5 separate regions of the Homo sapiens genome follow, and all the other regions are linked to region 1. Evidence: promoter capture Hi-C in 16 types of primary human blood cells and fetal thymus (Javierre and others, 2016). All regions are on one chromosome and are shown on one strand. Each heading gives the region's core, a stretch centred on a gene start or on the middle of the fragment in contact. The rest is flanking DNA. Distances are from core to core; before and after follow the strand shown. Region 1 holds the start of CD2AP (CD2 associated protein). Region 2 holds the start of SNRNP48 (small nuclear ribonucleoprotein U11/U12 subunit 48). Region 3 holds the start of C6orf52 (chromosome 6 open reading frame 52). Region 4 overlaps TMEM170B (transmembrane protein 170B). Region 5 holds the start of SOX4 (SRY-box transcription factor 4).

The links. Contacts are between HindIII fragments. The CHiCAGO score rates a contact against its expected background, and 5 or more counts as called.
Region 2: a contact is called between the fragment with the promoter of SNRNP48 here and the fragment with the promoter of CD2AP in region 1, in 2 of 17 cell types (non-activated CD4 T cells and total CD4 T cells). The highest score is 14.7, in non-activated CD4 T cells.
Region 3: the fragment with the promoter of C6orf52 here is called in contact with the fragment with the promoter of CD2AP in region 1 in 1 of 17 cell types (total CD4 T cells); the score reaches 10.2 in total CD4 T cells.
Region 4: a contact is called between a fragment that was not itself captured here and the fragment with the promoter of CD2AP in region 1, in 1 of 17 cell types (non-activated CD4 T cells). The highest score is 7.7, in non-activated CD4 T cells.
Region 5: a contact is called between the fragment with the promoter of SOX4 here and the fragment with the promoter of CD2AP in region 1, in 5 of 17 cell types (activated CD4 T cells, total CD8 T cells, total B cells and 2 more). The highest score is 15.0, in activated CD4 T cells.

The regions. Positions count from the first base shown.
Region 1 is chr6:47,476,530-47,479,050 of GRCh38, forward strand. It overlaps CD2AP (CD2 associated protein), which reads left to right and starts at 1,260. Exons shown (of 18, transcript NM_012120.3): 1 at 1,260-1,719. The coding sequence starts at 1,716. CD2AP-DT (CD2AP divergent transcript) reads right to left here and starts at 1,543. Exons shown (of 1, transcript NR_187257.1): 1 at 714-1,543. RefSeq lists a silencer at 1,022-1,531 and an enhancer at 1,818-2,521. The HindIII fragment of the contact is 1,754 bases long and covers 491-2,244 here.
Region 2 is chr6:7,588,938-7,591,458 of GRCh38, forward strand. SNRNP48 (small nuclear ribonucleoprotein U11/U12 subunit 48) reads left to right here and starts at 1,261. Exons shown (of 9, transcript NM_152551.4): 1 at 1,261-1,476. The coding sequence starts at 1,321. RefSeq lists enhancers at 1,018-1,757, 1,336-1,485. The HindIII fragment of the contact is 5,411 bases long and covers 29-2,521 here.
Region 3 is chr6:10,693,355-10,695,875 of GRCh38, forward strand. It overlaps C6orf52 (chromosome 6 open reading frame 52), which reads right to left and starts at 1,262. Exons shown (of 5, transcript NM_001145020.3): 1 at 1,140-1,262. PAK1IP1 (PAK1 interacting protein 1) reads left to right here and starts at 1,618. Exons shown (of 10, transcript NM_017906.3): 1 at 1,618-1,715. The coding sequence starts at 1,632. RefSeq lists enhancers at 1,176-1,225, 1,234-1,836, 1,266-1,645. The HindIII fragment of the contact is 16,030 bases long and covers 1-2,521 here.
Region 4 is chr6:11,540,214-11,542,734 of GRCh38, forward strand. All of the region lies in intron 1 of TMEM170B (transmembrane protein 170B), which reads left to right. Among named protein-coding and RNA genes, the nearest start is that of TMEM170B, 3.7 kb to the left of the region's middle. The HindIII fragment of the contact is 542 bases long and covers 985-1,526 here.
Region 5 is chr6:21,592,496-21,595,016 of GRCh38, forward strand. It overlaps SOX4 (SRY-box transcription factor 4), which reads left to right and starts at 1,256. Exons shown (of 1, transcript NM_003107.3): 1 at 1,256-2,521. The coding sequence starts at 2,040. RefSeq lists a silencer at 1,867-2,046. The HindIII fragment of the contact is 853 bases long and covers 830-1,682 here.

The sequences.
Region 1 (2,521 bases), core at 10-2,509:
CATGTTCCATGATGTCAATGTAATCTTGTTTAGGTGAGTATATTCAACTTTTTTCTTTTATCCTTTTTGGCTGCTGTTTGTGAGTTTGATCATTCTTGTTATAAAATTACCACATGTAACCTTTTGAGAAGCATTAGAAGAATTAAAAGATGGCAAAAGCAGGCCTATAGGAAATAGTGGTAATGGATACGTCCAAGGTTACTACTATGGGCCACTGTGCTCTGCATTGCAAGATTTGTTTGAACATACTCAAGAAATTGAAGTTCAGACAGGTTAATTTATCCAAGGTCCCACAAAAAGTAAATGGCTGTGCTGAGTTTCAAGGACCCATGTCTGCCTGGATCCAAAGGGCAAGTCAGTTTCAGTGCTGGATGACTGAGAATTACAAAATTTCTTGAAAAAGCACTAGGCACAATAGTTGGCGTTCAACAAACGCTCACACACACATCTGCCCTGGAATTGGGTCTACTTAAACAGAAGGGGGAAAAAAAGCTTGCTGAAATAATTATACTTCTTCGTAACTACCAAGCTCATGTTTGACTGACTATAGTAATCCTATGCCCTCCTTCACATTGACGCTAGAAAAAATGCCTGGCAGTATTTCAAATCATGATGCCTATTTTTCTCTCGATCAAGTAACAACTCAAATTATACTTTAAAAAGAAAAAAAGCAAATTATAAAGTTGCATTCAGCTGACAAGAGACTAAAGGAATCTGTGAAACAGAATTTATTTGATGCCTAGGTTTCTCCCTCACCCGACGAAGACCAAATGCTGCTGATCCGTAAGTAACTTCGCAAGGTAAACTGAGGGGCCTGGCAGCATCTGGGCCTCCCTTAAAGGTCGAAATCAAGTGCGCTCGCCCTCCTTCTGTCCGCCTTTTCCCTTTAAGGTCCTCGAGGCTGCTTCGCTGCAGAAAGTAACTCCGCGTCGCCGCCGCGGAAAGTGGGGCAACTTTGCCTATCAGCAGAAACCTTTTGATCCATCTGAGGCGACAAACCAGACCAAACGCCCGCCCAAGCTGTTCCGAGCCTCCGGGGGGAGAGCGAGCCCAAGCTCCTCTGCACCGCTTCCTCATCCGCTCGCTGCACCTGGACGCGGTCGGCGCGCGACCCCCGGCCGTGACGTCACCGCACCTGGCAGCAGCCGTGGGGACCGGGAGAGAGCCCGAACGCGACGGGGCGGGGTGGGGCGGGGAGAACGAGGGCGTTCTCGCGAGATTTGCCTCCTCCCGGTCCCAGCTCCCCGCACCTTCTCGGCCTCTGTCTGGGTCCCCACCTTAGTCTACGGTGTCGCCTTTTCTAACTGCGAGTGCTAAGGAAGAGGCGAGGGGCGGGCTCCGAGGCTAGGCGGGCGCTCGGGGTTGGAGCCGAGGGTCTGGGCAAACCGGTGGGTCCCTCCCCACTGCGGGAGCGGCCAGGGTGGGAAAACCGCGGTCGGGCGGGCGGGGTAGGGCCCTCCCGCCGCCGTGGCTCCTGGGGAGGCCAGGGGTGAGGAGCTGTCGCCGCCTTTGCCTCTGCCTCGAGGGCCGCGCTGAAGAGACTGGTAGGAGAGCGCCGCGGGCGGATGGAGGCGACTCTTCGCCCCGCCTGAGCTCAGGAGGGGCTAGCGCGGAGCGCGGGTCCCGCCTCCAGCCGCGGGAGCGGCCGCGCGAGCCACCACTGGAGGAGGAGGAGGAGGAGCGGACGTCGGCTTCTCCCCGCGGGAGCCCCCAGCATGGGTAAGAGACTCGGGCGCTTCCCGCCGCCCGTCCGGACCTTCCAGACCCGGGGAGGCTGTGCCCTTTCTCGGCCTTCTGGGGAGGCGACTGCGGTCAGCCCCTGAGCGGCAGCACCCCACCCTCTCCATTCTCCCCACCGCCCCTTCTTGCCCTGCCTTCCACCTTGCTCTTCTCACGGAGAAACTGGTGGGAGAGCTCGCGGGTGCTTTCCCTCGCTCTCCCTTCTCCGCCTCTTTTCCTGTTCACCAGAAAGGTGCGGGATGGGGGGCGGGGGCGCCTGGCCACCTCTGCTAACCCCTTGCCCAGCTAAAATCAGACCTGACCTTCCTTCCCTTCCTCATCCCCTTGCTTCCCTCCCCCTCCTCGTGGGATGGGGGAGGGCGATCGAAAAACTTGATAAAGTAGCACTTTCAACTTCTTTATTTTCTGCGAGGCTTTGAATACGTTTAAGGAGAGAGATAAATTTGTTCAAAAACTTTTTTTTTTTCCTGCTGAAACTCGCAAGGGGTGCCTCAAGGACAGGAAAGCTTGAGTATTTGTTTTACTCGGGTTCTACCTAGGCAAGTGTGTTGGCACCTAAGCATTCAGTGTGCTCCCGAGGACTGGGTTTGGACTTCAGTGTTGGATCCTTTGAGGAGCAGTTTCCTGTTTGGAGTTAGACTTCCTTGCCGGAGGAGAGAAAAATACAAGGCCTTATATGTTATTTACTATGTGCTTTATAGTTTTGTTTGAAGTTAGAGAAGGCAGAATGTGTGGCAGTCCGGGTTGAAAAGGAGTTTTGTTAAGTGGTGTAACAATTTCT
Region 2 (2,521 bases), core at 11-2,510, about 40 Mb before region 1:
GGTGTTGGGTAGGAAATGTACAAAGTTAAGCTTGTGTTATCAAAGCAAGAAAGCATTCAAGGACTAATAGGGATACATGAAAGACACAGATGGCTTAATGTGGCTTCCACTGGCCACATTTGGGACAATTTGAGCATCAACAAGAATTATGATGTTAAAGGAGTATATTATATTGAATTAAAAAAAAACCTTAAATCAATAACTTTAAAAACACCTTGATTCCCATAGTGAAGCAAACACTAAAATGGAGGTGTGGAAAGAATGCCAGTTAATAAACATAAAAGGCATGATACTATTGCGGAATCACTTATAACTCCTAATGTAACAACAGATTCAGTGAAGGACTGTATCAAGGAGTTGGGGAACAGGTTATTCTTATGGACTCAAGGTATAATCCACAGATTGCTTACCAATTCCTAAGAGGAAAATGTACTATTAGAATGAAGAGATGTAGCCACCACCTTTACCAAGTGATCAAATTTAGCATTACTAATATAACTGAGTTATGCGTCCCCGTGAGTTGGCAACATCTCTTAGGTAGTATTGCAAAAGTGCTCAAACTGAATCTAATCATGAGGGAAACAAAATCTGACAAATCCAGAATGAGAGAGATTCTACAAGACAACTGGCCTAGGCTCATCACAACATGTAATGATTTAATAATTTAAAAAGGAGGGTGAAGGAGGCTGATCTGGATTAAAAGAGACAATAACTAATTATAGCTTATGAGTTGAAAAAATAAAACTGCTATAGAAATAATTTTGGGGACAATGGGGAAATTTGAATATGAACTGTATAATAAATGATTTTATGGACTTACTAATTTTCTTAGGTTTGATCATGTATTGCGGTTACACAGGAAAATGTTCTTATTCTTAGAACATGCATGCTAACATATTTGGGGGTGAAAAATCTGCAACTTACTTTCAAAGAATTCAGCAAAAATCATTGGGTGGGGCTGTGAATGTGGAGAGAAGAGACGGAGAGAAATCAAACCTGGCAAAATGTTAACAATGAGCTGAAGGACGGCTAAACGAAAGCTCATTGTACTATTTTTAAAACTTTTCTGTAGCTATAAGCCGTTTTTTCTGAGGAAGTCGAGGAGGGCGAATATCTTTCTGGAAAGGCCAGAGCAAATGCACGCAAGAGCTGAGAAAAGATTGGAAAACGCCTCTCAAAATAACAGTCCCGCCCTTCCCGGGACTCTTCCCTATAGGCTGTTCAAGTCACGTGGCGACTGTGGCCCCGCCCACAGCTCCCAGAGGCCTGCGCGTGCGGTCTGCAGTTCGGCCGCTTCCTCTTGGCGGGTGGGCTGCAGCTATGGAGGGCGAGCCTCCACCTGTGGAGGAGCGGCGGCGGCTGCAGGAGGAGCTGAACGAGTTCGTGGAGAGCGGCTGCCGGACGTTGGAGGAGGTGACCGCGTCCCTGGGCTGGGACCTAGATAGTCTGGATCCCGGGGAAGAGGAGGCGGCGGAGGTGAGGAGCGCGGCCGCGGGGCCCTTTCGGGGACTATCGGCCCGGGGTCTTCTCTGGAAGAAGGGAGATCCGCACTGGCAGCCGCGGAGGGAAGGGCGAGGAGTCCTCGTCCGTGTGCAGAGCCGCGATGGGCGCCTGGGACCCGAGGGGCGCCGGGGGCCCTGGAGCAACCCTGACGTCCCTGGGTTCCGGGCTGGGGCGCGCGAGGAACTCCCGAAGGCTCCACATCGACCTCCAGTGCGGCGCTCCTCCCGCGCAACTTCGAGTTTAAAGAAAACCGGGGGCCGGGCGCGGTGGCGCACGCCTGTAATCCTAGCACTTTGAGAGGCCAAGGCGGGAGGATCCCTTGAGCCCAGGAGTTCCAGACTAGCCTGGGCAACATGGTGAAACCTCTTCTCTACCAAAAGTACAAAAATTAGCCGGGTGTGGTGGTGTGAGCCTGTGGCCCCAGCTATTTGGGAGGCTGGGGTGGAAGGATAGCTTGAGCCCAGGAGGTCGAGGCTGCAGTGAGCCGAGATCGCTCCACTGCATTCCAGCCTGGGCGACAGAGCAAGACCCTGTCTCAAAAAACAAACAAACAAAATCCAGGAAGGTGTGTTGAGTGAGGAGGGAATGGCAGATTTGGTATTTATTTAGAAAATAAGTGAACGTGTCTCAGAGCGCTGCAGAGGGATTGGCGGTTTGCATTGTCATCTGTCATACGGATTCCGCAGTTGCACCAGATTCGGTGTCAGGAGAGCTGGGAGTTTGCCAGTTCGCCTTTCTGTGCCTTAAAATTGGACACTTCTGACTGGGACAGCACCAATTCTAGGATTATTAAAGGTTGTCACCAAGAGGTGGTAACTGGCAACTCCTGTGGACATTAGAATTGCTTTTTTAAAAATGTAGGCAAGTGTATTTAGAGTGAACATTCGTGATTTTTGTTTTTTTGTGGGGTATTTTCGGTGGAATGAGAGGAAGGGAAGTGCTCCAATGTGGGGTAATTCATTATCTTTACTATTACTTCTGGGTTTACCATGCTGTGATAATTTCTCCTGGGTTTAAG
Region 3 (2,521 bases), core at 12-2,511, about 37 Mb before region 1:
TGCTGACTTTTCTTCGTGTCACCAATTATCTATTTCTAACAATAACAAGGTCTTTTCTGCACTGCAGTGACAACCAAAGCATCCCAAATGAAATCATTTCTGCAAGACCCAAACTAGCCTCTATTAACACGTACTAACAATTCAGAACACCAGAGAAGAAAAGTTATTGGAAACAAAAGGGTCTAAGCGCTGAAGCACTGTATCGCACTTGAAATGGAGGCTGAAGATTTGAGAAGGATGGACTATGCATCTTGTTTACCAAATGACCTACTACGGTGTTTATGAGAACTATACGAACCAAGATTTACTCTGTTGGGAGCTTGTAGGAAAGCTGTAATGTCTAAGACATACCTGAATCTCTAAACCTTATTAAATAAAACTTTTTTTTTCTTTGAAAGGGGGCCTGGCTCGTCCCCCAGACTGGAATGCAGTGGAGCGATCTCGGCTCACTGCAGCCTCGACCTCCTGGGCTCAAGCAATCCTCCCACCTCAGCCTTCCGAGTTGCTGAGGCCACAGGCGGGCGTCGCCATGCTGGGCTAATTTATAACATTTTTGTAGAGACGGCATCAAAATATGTTGCTCAGGCTCACTTTGTTTTCCCAACTCTCAAATGAAGGCTCTGGCCGGGCGCTGTGGCTCACGCCTGCAATCCCAGCAACTTTGGGAGGTCGAGGCAAGCGGATCACCTGCGGTCGGGAGTTCAAAACCAGCCTAGCCAACATGGAGAAACCCTGTCTCTACTAAAAAATACAAAATTAGCCAGGCGTGGTGGCGTATGCCTGTAATCCCAGCTACTCGGGAGGCTGAGGCAGGAGAATTGCTTGAACCCGGGAGGCAGAGGTTGCGGTGAGCCGAAATCGCGCCACCGGACTCCAGCCTGGGCAAAAAGAGCGAAACTCCGTCTCAAAAAAAAAAAAAAAAAAATGAAGGCTCACTGCTCCCTCCCCAGGAGGTGCCGCAACCTTGGCCAATACAGCCCCAGAGTTAGACAAGCAGACAGAGAAAGTGTGCAGGGCTGGGGTTCTGGCCCGGGCAGACGGGAACGCGGACACATCTAGCACTCCGAGTCCGTCAAGGCAGCGCGAGCGCTGCGCCGCTGGAACAAGTCACCGCGAACCCTAATCCCACCCCTCCTTACCCTATTAACGACAGAAAGCCTCGTTCCGCTGGTCCCTGAACAAAAACTCCTACCCTACTAGTACACAGCCCACAACAATGCACGCTGCCGGCGCTACAGCCCCTAAGCAACCGGCCGGAAGTCGGCCCCACCTCCTCCTGATGTCACGGAAATGAAGGGCTTCGCAGAGGATGTCCCGCCCGCTCCCTTCAGACGGGCGTAGCTGGCACCTTCCTGAGATATGCCTGCTTGCCCCCGATTTTTTTCTCCTTGCAGTGAGAACCTCCTCATGTGGCATCTTTACTTATTCTCTTCTTGGAAAATCCATGTGACCTCCCCGCGCTTAAAGTGTTTCCACGTTACAGGCGACTTAAAGGCAGCCCTGGAGCCTGACGTATAATTCGAGCGCCGATGCAGAAAGGAGTCAGGTGTTTTTTTTTTTTTTTTTTTGGTTTCCGGTTCTGTCACCTCCAGGCTGAGCCGGGCTGGCGGAAGAGGCACGTGCGCTGCTGAATGGAGCTGGTCGCTGGTTGCTACGAGCAGGTCCTCTTTGGGTTCGCTGTACACCCGGAGCCCGAGGCTTGCGGCGACCACGAGGTGAGATACCGCGTAGTTAGAGACAGTCGGAGGCGGGGCCGGGAAGGTCGGGTTTGGTTCCTACACAGCAGAGGTGAACATTGGAGCGCCTGCTGTTCACTGGATGATTTGATGAATCAAACCTAAGAGACTTAAGAGAAAAGCTAACCTTTTAAACCGTAGAATGGACATTTTATCAAAATGAGGCAATATCTGCCTTTTCTAGTAGACAAAAGGTCCACGGGACACAAAGGAAACCGGCATTTCTGCATACGGACAAATGAGTCGTAGATTGTGGATTTAAGGATCGATCCCATAAGTTGACAGTATTCAGAATTTAATGAAAGAAGATCTCGCTCTTTTGCTGAATTTCTGCCCTGGAATTTTACAAATTACTAGAACTAGATTAGGATAAATCCCTTATAGGTAAAGCGATACCAATTCATTATTTGTTGGGAACTTATGGCGAGCTGGGCGGTGGAGATGCAAAGATGCTGGAGGTATGGATCTTGCCTTAGAGACGTTGCCTACATAAGGGGTGGAGGACTGAGGAGACGCATAGATGGAGAGAAATTACAGCAGAATATGATATTACTAGATGTGTGAATAGATAAAAAGGTCAAATAAATTATCAGTAGTCAAATAGGTAGATAGGACTATACTCACGACTAGGAATCCGACCTCCTAACATCTAGCTCACTTTTATTCTTGAAGCAATTCTAAGCATTTTCTAGAAAATTGAGTACAGTACTTCTTTATGAAGTCAAGGCGTCGGTCTTTAATTATCCAGAAAATTTGGAAGTATATCACTTGGCCTATTGCTTTCG
Region 4 (2,521 bases), core at 6-2,505, about 36 Mb before region 1:
AGGAAGAGCAATAGACTCTTCCTTTCATGAAAGATTTCTCTGTAGCATGGGATGCTGTTGGGTAGCATTTTATCCACAGTAGAACTTTCAAAATTGGAGTCAGTCCTTTCAAACCCTGCTGCGGCTTTATCAACCGAGTTTATCTAATAGTCTAAATCCTTTGTTGTCATTTCCACGGTGTTCACATGATCTTCACCAGGAGTAGATTGCATCTCAAGAAACCACTTTCTTTGCTCATCCATAAGAAGCAACTCCTCATCCATTCAAACTTTATCATGAGATTGCAACAATTCAGTCACATCTTCAGGCTCCACTTCTAATTCTAGTTCTCTTGCTATTTCGACCACACCTATGGTTACTTCCTCCACTAAAGTGTTGATCCCCTCAAAGTCATCCATGAGGAATGGAGTCAATTGCTTTCCAACTCCTATGAAAGTTGATATTTGGACCTCTTCTCATGAGTCACGATTGTTCTTAAGGGCATCTGGAATGGTGACTCCTTTCCAGAAGGTTTTCAATTTCCTTTGCCCAGGTCCATCAGAGGAATCACTATCTCTGGCAGTTTTAGCCTTCTTACACAGTGTATTTCTTAAATAATAAGACTAGAAAGTCAAAATTACTCTTTGATCCATGGTCTGCAGAATGGATGTTGTGTTAGCAGTCATGAAAACAACATTGATCTACTTGGACATCTCCATCACAGCTCTTGGTTGACCAGGTACATTGTCATTGAAGAAAATACTCATTAAAATGAAAGGAATCTTTTTTTTTTCTGAGCAGTTCTCAACAGTGGGCTTCACATATTCAGTAGGCCGTGCTGTAAACTGATGTACTGTCATCCAGGCTTTTTTGTTTCATTTATAGAGCACAGCCAGGGTAGATTTAGCATAATTCTCAAGGGCGCCAGAATGGTAAATGAGCATTGGCTTTAATATAAAGTCACCAGCTGCATTAGCTCCTAAGAAGAGTCAGCCTGTCCTTTGAAGCTTGGAAGTCAGGGATTGACTTCTCTCTAGCTGTGCAAGTCCTAAATGGCATCTTCTTCTGATATAAGGCTGTTTAATCTACATGGAATATCTGTTGTTTGGGGTAGCCACCTTCATCAGTTAGCTAGATCTTCTGGATAATTTGTGCTTCTACATCAGCATTTGCTGCTTCACCTTGCACTTTTATGTTATAGAGGTGTCTTTTGTTAAACCTAAAGAACTGACATCTGCTAGTATCAAACTTTCTTTTGCAGCTTTCTCACATCCCAGCCTGCATGGAATTGAAGAGAGTTGGGGTCTTTCTCTGGGTTAGGCTTTGGCTTAGGGGAGTGTTGTAGCTGGTTTCATCTTCTATTTAGACCACTCAAACTTTCTTCATATCAGAGAGCAGTCTGTTTTGCTTTCTTATGATTTGTGTGTTCACTAGTGTAACACTTTTAATTTCCTTTAAGAATTTTTCTTTGCATTTGCAACTTGGCTGTTTGGTACGAGAGGCCTAGCTTTCAGCCTAACTCATCTTTGAACGTGCCTTCCTCATTAAGCTTTATCATCTCTAGCACTTGATTTAAAGTGAGATATCTGACTCTTTTTTTCACTTGAACACTCAGAGGCCAATGTAGGATTATTAGTTGGCCTGATTTCAATATTGTTGTATCTCAGGGAATAGGGAAACCCGAGGAGAGGGAGAGAGACTGAGGAATGGCTGGTTGGTGGAGCAGTGAGAACACACAAGATTTATCGAGTAAATTATCGAGTAAAATAGTAACATCAGAGATCACTTATCACAGATCACTATAATAATAAAATACAATAATAAAATAATAATAAGATAATAAAATTTGAAATATTGTTAGAATTACCAAAATGTGACACAAAGTGAGCCCATGCTGTTGGAAAAATGGTACTGATAGACTTGCTTGACACAGAGTTGCCTCAAACTTACCATTTGTAAAAGCCAAAATAAAGTGAAGTACAATAAAACAAGGTATGCCTGTAGATATTAATCACTGGATTAGCTCATCAAAGGGTTTTTAGAGAAAGTTAGCTTTGGGAGCCATAGAGTAAATGTAAATGTAACTTAACTCCTGGCCAGCTTCAACAATATTTTTAAATAAGTAAGATTCTAATGATTATAATTGCCTCCAGTTCTGCAAGTCAACCATTAAGCTGATAATAGTAGTTATTCATCCAGGGTTAGCTCCAATATGTCTTTCAATATGATCTTAATACTTGCCAGTTGCTCATTGGACCTTGCCATTTCATAAAGGATATGCCGAACATCCCAAACTAGGACTGAGGCGGGACTGAGGACCATGGGAACCTCTACTAGGAAATAACTACTGTCTGAATATGTGAAATTCTAGGCGTCAGGATAAAAATGCAGAAAGAAACAGATTAGAAATATGTTTCACTAGTGGTAGAGTGTACCACGTTAGGAACCACATCTCTTCTCAACAGTGGCAGTCTATAAGTGATAATATTCTGATGGGATTCATTGTGGCCTTCTCCATGCCAGTGACCTTAGTGATTTGGTG
Region 5 (2,521 bases), core at 6-2,505, about 26 Mb before region 1:
CAACAACCCTCTATAAAGTAGCTCCTAGTGTTCCCATATAATAGATGAGGAAAACTGAGACTTGGCCACATCCCCATAGTTACAAACCATTAAGAAGGATTAGCAGCCAGGTCTACTATGAATCCGGAGGCCCCATTCTCTTCTGCTACCAGTTATCACCTCCTTCTACAGTTTCTCTTTGCCTTGGTTTTTCAGTTCCCTTCGATTCAAGTAACAAGAGGAAATATATAAGAAGGAAAGGAGGAAGATGGCTTTGGGAGGAGGAGAGGGAAGAGAGTGAAGCAATCTTTAATTTTGAAAACAGGGAAAACAAATATTTAGAAAGTAAAACCGATTTCCATCCTTTACATGCCATTATACATCCTATACAAAACTCTGGAAATCTGCCTATTGAGGTAATTACGGAGCACTACCTAATGTGTTTCAAGGGAAAGCTCCCCTGTTTGGGCTATGCAGGATTTACAGGGAGTTTAAATCATTAAATAACCATAGTTGACCCTTGCTTGGTTAAGAGAGTAAGCAATTATTGCAAAGTCCTCTTCCCTGCCTTCCACAAACAGCACAAAAACGGTTCTGAAGGGATTTACACAATACATCAACATCTGTGCTGTACCTAGAGTTGTTAAAATAATTGTGATGACAGGTGTCTAGGTACCACTTTCTTAATGGTTTTCAATATCCATTGATTTATTGTTTTGTGGCTTTCTCTTCCCCTTTACAGCTTTGGCTTTAAGAAAGAGCTGGGGAACAGATTTTGCACCAGAGGCTGATTCTTTATTCCAATGCTGAAAAGAACTAATAAAAATAATCACTTGGCTTTTAAGCAGAAAGCTTCCATTTACAGTATTTCACCCTTACCCCGCCCCGTTCCAAGCCCCTTGTTATCTAACATAATGGTTAGAATACATTTCCGTCTCTCCCCTTAATAATTTCATGCATTAACATCCTCTTCACACACTATACACACACGCACGCGCGCACACACACGCGCGCGCACACACACAGCAAAAGGAAAAAAGAGGCAGCAGAAATCTCAGCTGTACTTCTAGCCCTTTTAAAAAGTTTGCTCTGTAAATTGGAATGAGGTCAGATTTGGAGCTTCTCATTGCACGCGGAGATTATTATTGCATCGGGTTCCAAGCCAATGGGAAGCCCGGGGGAGGGGTTTGGCATGAGGAAGCGTTGGTTACAGCAGCTGATTGGCTGCAGCCAAGACTGTGAAAGGATAAAGAGGCGCGAGGCGGAATTGGGGTCTGCTCTAAGCTGCAGCAAGAGAAACTGTGTGTGAGGGGAAGAGGCCTGTTTCGCTGTCGGGTCTCTAGTTCTTGCACGCTCTTTAAGAGTCTGCACTGGAGGAACTCCTGCCATTACCAGCTCCCTTCTTGCAGAAGGGAGGGGGAAACATACATTTATTCATGCCAGTCTGTTGCATGCAGGCTTTTTGGCTTCCTACCTTGCAACAAAATAATTGCACCAACTCCTTAGTGCCGATTCCGCCCACAGAGAGTCCTGGAGCCACAGTCTTTTTTGCTTTGCATTGTAGGAGAGGGACTAAGTGCTAGAGACTATGTCGCTTTCCTGAGCTACCGAGAGCGCTCGTGAACTGGAATCAACTGCTTCAGGGAAAAAGAAAAAAAAAAAAAAAAGACTTGCCTGGGAGGCCGCGAGAAACTTGCATTGGAAGCTTCAGCAACCAGCATTCGAGAAACTCCTCTCTACTTTAGCACGGTCTCCAGACTCAGCCGAGAGACAGCAAACTGCAGCGCGGTGAGAGAGCGAGAGAGAGGGAGAGAGAGACTCTCCAGCCTGGGAACTATAACTCCTCTGCGAGAGGCGGAGAACTCCTTCCCCAAATCTTTTGGGGACTTTTCTCTCTTTACCCACCTCCGCCCCTGCGAGGAGTTGAGGGGCCAGTTCGGCCGCCGCGCGCGTCTTCCCGTTCGGCGTGTGCTTGGCCCGGGGAACCGGGAGGGCCCGGCGATCGCGCGGCGGCCGCCGCGAGGGTGTGAGCGCGCGTGGGCGCCCGCCGAGCCGAGGCCATGGTGCAGCAAACCAACAATGCCGAGAACACGGAAGCGCTGCTGGCCGGCGAGAGCTCGGACTCGGGCGCCGGCCTCGAGCTGGGAATCGCCTCCTCCCCCACGCCCGGCTCCACCGCCTCCACGGGCGGCAAGGCCGACGACCCGAGCTGGTGCAAGACCCCGAGTGGGCACATCAAGCGACCCATGAACGCCTTCATGGTGTGGTCGCAGATCGAGCGGCGCAAGATCATGGAGCAGTCGCCCGACATGCACAACGCCGAGATCTCCAAGCGGCTGGGCAAACGCTGGAAGCTGCTCAAAGACAGCGACAAGATCCCTTTCATTCGAGAGGCGGAGCGGCTGCGCCTCAAGCACATGGCTGACTACCCCGACTACAAGTACCGGCCCAGGAAGAAGGTGAAGTCCGGCAACGCCAACTCCAGCTCCTCGGCCGCCGCCTCCTCCAAGCCGGGGGAGAAGGGAGACAAGGTCGGTGGCAG